2 separate regions of the Homo sapiens genome follow, and region 1 is linked to region 2. The links are contacts of gene promoters, found by promoter capture Hi-C in blood cells and fetal thymus (Javierre and others, 2016). All regions are on one chromosome and are shown on one strand. Each heading gives the region's core, a stretch centred on a gene start or on the middle of the fragment in contact. The rest is flanking DNA. Distances are from core to core; before and after follow the strand shown. Region 1 holds the start of LRRC75A (leucine rich repeat containing 75A). Region 2 holds the start of CENPV (centromere protein V).

Region 1 (3,776 bases), core at 187-2,686, 140 kb after region 2:
CACGGTAGACTCCACCTCTAATGGGGTCAGTCTAGCAAGAATATGGGGCCTGGATTGTCTACCCACCAAAGCCAGGCCAAGACAACCTGCTTGGTGATGCAGGAGAGCAGCTTTGCACTCCCCTGCCTGTCTTATACTCAACAAAATCCATGGCATGGGCCATGCTCCTCTCCCCACCAAAGAAACTGACAAAGGAAAACAAGCCACAGAGAGGTGAGTGATAGCATTAGCCTCAGGGCAGCCCCAAAGCAGAGGGAACTGGCCAATTCCGCAACATCTGTCCCTAGCCAGTGGGACAGGCACAGGCTAAGGACAGAGTCCTGGCAGTCTCCTGAAGTTGCTGCTGGCCAGGTGGTCACACAGGGCACCAAATCCAGCTCCCCTGTCTCTACCGCTTTCCGCAGGGGCTCATGGTTGAGGATCTGCTGAAGTTAGTCAGGGGAGAGGAAACAGTCTCCTCCTTGAACTACAATCCAGGATGCCTCCCAGGCGAGTGAAGGACCTAGGGACTGGAATCTCATTGGCCCCAGGGCTGTGCCCCTGGACTCGCTCTCGGGAAGCCAAGCCAGGTCCAACTGATAACCGCATTCCTTGAGGACCCTCGGCCGGGAGTGACTGCCAGTGGGCAGACAGGAAGAAAAGAGCCCTGGCCCAGATCAGGCAGGCATCCCTGCTTCCCCGCCCACCGACTGTCCCCGGAGACCAGCCTCCTTCTCTGCCTGCGGAGGAGAGCAGTGGGGACATTATGCCAACAGGTCCCCTTCGGCGGGCCTCACCCGGCCAGCCTTCCTCCGCCCTGCCCTGAGGCCCCACATTCAGCGGAAGCGCCGAGGCACCTGCTGCCAGACAGGGCTCCATCCCCGCGGAAGGGGCCCCTGGGCGGTGCCCCTCGGTGCCCCCGGCTTCCTCGGTTAGGGATGGGGCGCCCCCCCCGGCCCAGCACGCCCCCTGGCCCGGCGCGCCCCCCGCGCCCCCTCCCCGCGCTCACCTGGCGCAGGTGCTGCAGCAGCGTCCCCGCCTCCTCCCGCCGGCCCTGGCGCACCATCCGCAGCAGCTCCTGGACCATGCCGACTCGCCGGTGGTAGGGGGGCATCCCCGCGCCCGCGCGCCCCGCCTTGTCCCCGGCGCGCAGCAGCAGCGACGCCCAGAAGTCCGGCCGTTCGCGTCGGGGGCCCGGCGCGGCGCCGGGGCTGGCTCTCTCCGCCAGGCTGCCCTTGGTCTGCCGGGTGCCCATGCCGCCGCCGCCCGCCGGGACTCTCCGCTCTGGGCCGCGAGGCCGCGTCCCCGCCAACCGCCCGCCCCTCGGCCGCCCGTGCGCGCTCGCCTCCCGGGCTGCAACTTTGGGGGAACTGTTGCGCGCGGGCGTCGCGGGGGCGGGCGGGCGGGCGGCTGTCGGCGCTCCCCGCGCTCCTCCCTCTTGGCTACCCGGGCGCGCTCCCCGGGCGCTCGCCGCCGGCCCGCCCGCCGGCCCCGCCCCGGCCCGGCTCGGCCCGCCCCGCCCCCCGCCTCCGCGCCGGAGCTCCGCGGCGTCGCGCGCCTCCCTCTTCTCGGGCTCCCGCTCCTTCCCGCCCCGCGGCTCCGGGCTGGGGACCACCACCAGGCGCCCCCTGCCTGCGTCCTCTCGGCAGTCGCGCCTCCTGCGGGCGGCAGTGCTGCGCTTCCCGGGGCCGTGGCGCGGGGGCGAGGGGAACAGGCAGGCCCCATGGGCCGTCGCTCTCGGTCCCCACCGGGCTCCCCGACGCTTCCACCACCGCGCGCCCGGTGCGTCGGGCGAGATGGGGAAAGTTTGGAGCATGGGGGTGTGTGTGTTGGGGGGCTCTCTTAGGCCCAGAGTCGGGTTTCTCAAGGTGGGTTCCGCTGAGCCTCAGCGCCCAAATCGTCGGAGGCGCTGGTTAAAAACGCAGGCTCTAAGGCCTCCACCGAGACCTACTGAATGATAATCTCCTCGGTGGGGCCTGGGATCCGCCTTTTTAGCCAGCATGTTGGGTGATTCCCATGCACGCTCCTTTGAGACCTGGCCTGCTTGCAGGGCGCTGTAGTGGTGTGGTTGGTGCGTAAACCTGGAAACTGTGCGAGCTTATGGGTTGTGTGCGTGCCCTTCTATGGAGAGGGCCTGTTGCTTCCATCATGCTCTCAAAGCATCTGGACCGGAGAGGTGTGAACTCCTGTGTTCTCTTGTTCTCACTCTCACAGCCCTGGAGAAGGGTCCCTGGGGTAGTCCTGGTACAACAAAGCAAACGCACGTCTGCGAGTAGGCCCAGCGGTACACCCTGCTGGCCCACCTTCCTCCCCGTGCCTCTGCCAGGCCCAGTCTGTAAGGGACCAGAGCCCTGGGATCTCATGGTGTTGCCAGGGCTTGCCAGAGTGAAGGCGAAGGCAGGTGGGGGAGCTTCTCTGTTGCAGACCACAGGCCGCCCTGGTCCCAGCGCAGGGCAGAAGCAATTGTGCAAGCTCGCCTCTGACCCCAGCTCTGGGTGTTGCTTGAGGGTGTAAGGGCACGTGGGCTGTAGGGGCAGGAGGCTGGATCCCAAATCACAGGGAGCTGAGCCCCACTACTTAGTGAGCACTGAGTATCAGGCGAGTCTTCAGCTTCTTGAGTCCTGATTCTTCCTGTCAGGCTAGGATAATAACACTGCCAAGAATTGGGAGAGTAAACTCGGTGGACACTGCTAAAGGAAAAAATTATTTAATGACATGAGTTAAAGCATCGTAAGGAAGACTTTATTCAGGACCATTACCATAGGTGTAGGGACCTCTGCTATGAGATTTTGCAGTTGCAGGGAGAGAGAGATTGAGCTCAACTCCAATTACAGCATGGGCAAGTGGGAATTCGTTGCTAAGGAGCAGGGTGGGGGTCAGCGGATAGAAACTTAATAAGGGAAACATCAGGGCTGAGGGGGATTCTGGCTAAACAGGTTGTATGGAGCACCCTTGACATAAGTAACTCCATCTTAGAAAAAGGGTCCATTTTACATTTGAAAAAGCCTCATGCCAACAGGAACCAGATGTTCGCCTAATCAATAAAGACTACACCCCACCAGATAAAGACATAAACAGGCACACTCTTTGCTATCAGTCCTCACCAGAGGATTCTGTAGCCATAAAAAGAGCAGGACTTCAGCAACTGGAGATGACCGTCTGGATAGACCCCATCTTGCCCACACTCTGCCCACATCAAAGACTCTTCCTTGCAAGACACTGAGGACTGTTTGGATCAGGCCAGGAGACTCCCCTTGTCCAAGTCACTCTCCTTGGACTATATTGTTAACCGCTCCTTCCCTATCCCCTTTTCTCTTGATGTTAAATGTACTTTGATGTGGAATGTGTAATCTATAACATTTATATATTGATTAAGTATACTACCATGTATGGTTGGCAGTATTGACTGACTTGTGGAGTGACTTGAGCCTGTATGCCCACAGCTCTTATTACCAAGTGAATGGGGAAAACTAAGGAGAATTTGCCTCCTTGAGAACCCCATGTGGCTTGTGGCTTTTATGACTGAAATAGCATCAATAAAAGCCTGACGTTGTAGAAAGACACACATGTGCATGAACCTGATTATTTCTGACTTTGTGGCACTCACAACACCAACCTAACAGAATTCTTGCTTTAGACAGGCCAGGTGACCAGAGATCACCTGGGGGAGGGTGGGGGATGATAAACCTAATCAGATATTGAAGATGATCAGATATACAAGATGGAGGGTTCTTGCTAAACTGTCTTAACAGGGTCTTTGCTAAAACTGGATTTTACATGGAAGTGCAAAGAGGGTC
Region 2 (3,889 bases), core at 934-3,433:
ATTAAGATCTGATAAATGTCTTAAAATCGCTTTCCAAAAGGATTGAACACCCTTACCCGATAAATAAATGAGAAAACATTTCACTGTACAGTCTCAGGCAATAATTATAGGAAAAATAGCTCACTGCAGTTTTAATTTGCATGATTAAGACTGATCATTTTTTCATGTTTCTTTACGTTTATGTATTTTAATTTTTTCTGCACACATAATGCTTATTGTAAAAACTCCAAACTTCACACTATTTGAGAGTGCTCAAAGTGAAAGCCTCCTGTAATCTTTACACCCAGAGGGATCTACAGTTAATTATTTGTTATATATTCCCCCAAACTTTTTTCTACACAATATTTTAACGAAAATGGTACAGTTATACACACTTTTTGAATATAATTTAGTAGACTTTATAAGTACAAAGTCATGGCAATCTAGTGGGAGAAAAACAGCTTTTTTATGTCAATATTTTAAAACTTTTTCTTGACCATTTATCAGTTTGTCTTAAAATAAAAATTTATCTCAAATTTGAGTTTTACATTCTTCTTTTTTTCTGTATGCCTTGAAGACACCATGAGTTTTACATTCCTAAGGATCTTCGTATTCCTTCTGCCCAGAGGCAGCCGTCACCCTATAGGTGCTCAAATGTTTGATGGATGAACGTTTTTTAAAAATTCAGTGTGCAGTCCAAGATGAAAAACCAAAAAGTGAAGCACACAGAAAACCAAATATGTATCTTCTGTCGGGGACGACTCATCCTAAGAGAATTTCTTCCGCAAGAAGCTCAAAGGAACATGTTCAAGAAAAGAAGTAATTCTCAGGTTATGCAATTGCTAGGTTATTCTTGTCGGTTTTTTCCCCCTAGTGTTTTGATTGTTCTTTTTAATTCGTAAAATTGACACTGAAATATAATATCAGGGCGTTAAAATATCTCTCTGTAGCACAACTGTTCCCCGAGGCAGGAATCCAGATCGCATTTGGAGAAAAGAAGGCAGCCCTTTAACAGCCCAGTTAAAAGCTCTTTCCCAAATCGCGGACACTCGAGATGCTCCTCGGGCCATCTAAAAGACTGCGGAGCAGCCAGGAGGGCGAGCGGCAGGGAGCATTAGCTGGCTGAGCACATAAAAGCCTCCCTACGTAGGTATCCCCGCCGCCGCGCGAGGCCGGAGCATCTCTTCGCGCGCGCTTCTCTCCCGGATCAATAACCTCCGCCCCCTGCTCCCTCCCTGGCAGTGCCTGGAACAATGACGGGATTTTGCTTCCCAGTGAGTTCAAAACTATTCATGCTTCCTTCAACGCTTCTACCTTTCCCTTCCACCCACCCTCAAAAACACGTGTGCAAACACAAAAAAAAAGGGGATTCGGGTAAGAGAAAGCCGTGGGATTTATGTTCTTTTCACTAAGAAAGGCCCCCACACCCTTTGCGCGCCAGCAAGAGACAACGTCCCCGAGCACGATGCTTATGGCCGGGAAAGACTCTTTGTGTCCCAAGACGGCTGCGCGCGCCCTCAAGCTCCGGACGAAGCCCCCTTTCCATTCCCAGGCCACACAGCCCTAGAAGCACCGCCCCGCCCCGCCGCCCTTAGAATTAAGGAATAACCCCAGTGCTAACGGGGGAGCCGCGTCGGCTCCGTAACGTGGAAGGCTCAGAGCTGAAAGGCGCCCAAGGCCTGCACGCGGGCTGCGAGCCCGACTCCTGCCGAGGGGGTCCGCGTGGCAACGGCTCCCGCGCCCCCCGGCCCGCCGCACTCACAAGGTGTCTAGCAGGAGCTTGGCGGCACCCTCGGAGGTAAGCTTCTGCCGCTTCTGGAACGTCTCCCAGCGCTCCCGCTGCTCGCCCAGGTCCAGGTTGGACGCCGAGGACGTCGGGGTCGCGGGAGTCGGCGGCGGCGGCGGCGGTGGCGGGAGCAACGCCAGCTCAGGCGGCGGCGGCTCCCCCGGGCCCTCCTCCTGGGCCCGCGGCGACGAGCGCCTCAGCCGCGGCTTCTCCGACGGCGGCTTCTCCACCGCCTGGCTCTTGCTCCCGGCCTGGCTAGCGGAGCGCCGTGTGCGGGTGGCGCTGGGTGCCAAGGCAGCGGCCGCGGAGGCCGCGGGGGCCGCGGAGGCCCCGGACCGCTTCTGCCCGCGCAGCTTGGCGGCCGCAGAGCTCCTCGATCGCCGCATGGCTCCCGCAGCCTGGCGCGCAGGCCTCGCAGCGCGGCGCGCCCCCGCCGGCCTGCGCGCGCCCCCGCCGCCCGCCAGTCTTCAGGCCCAGGGGGCGCTGCGCCCGGCTGCCCCGCTCCGCCAGCCGCGCCCCGCAGCGCGGCGCCTGCCCGCAGGAGGGAGACCCGGCCCGCCCGGCCGCTGGGACGCACCTGCCTGTTCAGTCCCGCAGGCAGAGGGGCTGCGCCTGGGCCTACGCTCGCGATACCCAGAATCCACTCGCACCTGCGAAGGCGCCCCTGCCCTGTGTGAATCCAGCGGGCTCTTCGTACCTTCCCGACCTGGAGGGGCCTGGGTTGGGCCTGAATTCGCAGGCTCATCCGAGCGGGCAGCCTGGGGTAACTTCGTCTCCAAAAACGAGCTAATTTGTGTAAACGGCCTGCCACCTGCTACCTCCTGTGTAACAGCGGCCGAAACCATAGTTCTTCACCTTCGTCTTTTCTGTCACATTATAGAACAGTGTCATGAGGATACCAATAGTCAACAGATTTGGGGTTTCATTTTAATTAAATGAATGACCCGCGCGTCGAATTTCATTAGTATGATTTTGATGAAGGCAGCACCAAAGTTTAAAGACAAAAGGCACGAGAATCGTTGATGGAACCCAGATAGTCTTCTTCTCCTTCTCCTTCTTCTTCTTTTTTCAGACCGAGTTTCGCTCTTGTTGCCCAGGCTGGAGTGCAGTGACGCGATCTCGCCTCACCGCAACCTCCGCCTCCCAGGTTCAAGCGATTCTCCTGCCTCAGCCTCCTGAGTAGCTGGGATTACAGGCATTCGCCACCACACCCGGCTAATTTTGTATTTTTAGTAGAGACGGGGTTTCACCATGTTGGTCAGGCTGGTGCCGAATACTCCCGACCTCAGGTGATCCATCCGCCTCGGCCTCCCAAAGCGCTGGGATTACAGGCCTGAGCCACCGGGCCCAGCCTATCTTTCTTTTTTTTTTTTTTTTTTTTTTCTTTTTTGGAGTCTCACTCTGTCGCCAGGCTGGAGTGCAGTGGCGCGATCTCGGTTCACGCAACCTCCGCCTCACCGTTCCAGCGATTCTCCTGCGTCAGCCTATCTTTCTTCTTTATTCTGATTTTCTTCATGGTATTGTTAGTTTAATAGTTTATTGAATTAAAGGCATAGTTTAACTATTTTGTCTTTTTTTTTTTTTTTCCATACAGGATCTGACAGACTGGAGTGCAGTAGCGGGATCTCGGCTCAGTGTAGCCAAGAACTCCTGGCCTCAAGCGATCCTGCCGCCTGGGCCTCTGGAGTAGCTGAGTAGCTGGAACAACAGGCGGCGCCCCCCCCCCCCCCCCCCCGCCCCAGCGAATTGTTGCTATTGTTGTTTTGTAGATACCGGGTTTCCCTATGTTGCCCAGGCTGGTCTCTAACTCCTGGCCTCAAGCGATCCTCCCGCCTAGTTCTCCCCAAGTGTTGGGATTACAGGCGTGAGCCACCGAGCCCCACCTTGCCATTTTGTCGTTGTTGTTGTTGGAATTATGGTTTACACACAGCAACGTGCAAATATCTTAGATGTACAGCTTATGTGACCACCACCACTTCAGATACAGAACATTTTCAGCACACCAGAGTTTCCCTCAGGCAAAAGAAAACAGAGGCGATCACTGTTCTTTTACCACCATAGGTTGGTTTTGCTTATTCTTGAACATCATTTTAAAACGGCACGTAGGCCGGGCGCAGTGGCTCA

What was found. Contacts are between HindIII fragments. The CHiCAGO score rates a contact against its expected background, and 5 or more counts as called.
Region 1: a contact is called between the fragment with the promoter of LRRC75A here and the fragment with the promoter of CENPV in region 2, in 14 of 17 cell types (erythroblasts, neutrophils, total CD4 T cells and 11 more). The highest score is 23.5, in erythroblasts.

The regions. Positions count from the first base shown.
Region 1 is chr17:16,490,757-16,494,532 of GRCh38, forward strand. LRRC75A (leucine rich repeat containing 75A) reads right to left here and starts at 1,437. Exons shown (of 4, transcript NM_001113567.3): 1 at 989-1,437. The coding sequence starts at 1,234. All of the region lies in intron 2 of LOC124903936 (a long non-coding RNA gene), which reads left to right. RefSeq lists silencers at 1,040-1,099, 1,210-1,259, 1,350-1,689. The HindIII fragment of the contact is 6,898 bases long and covers 1-3,776 here.
Region 2 is chr17:16,351,286-16,355,174 of GRCh38, forward strand. It overlaps CENPV (centromere protein V), which reads right to left and starts at 2,184. Exons shown (of 5, transcript NM_181716.3): 1 at 1,742-2,184. The coding sequence starts at 2,151. RefSeq lists silencers at 1,574-2,183, 2,244-2,393. The HindIII fragment of the contact is 31,801 bases long and covers 1,781-3,889 here.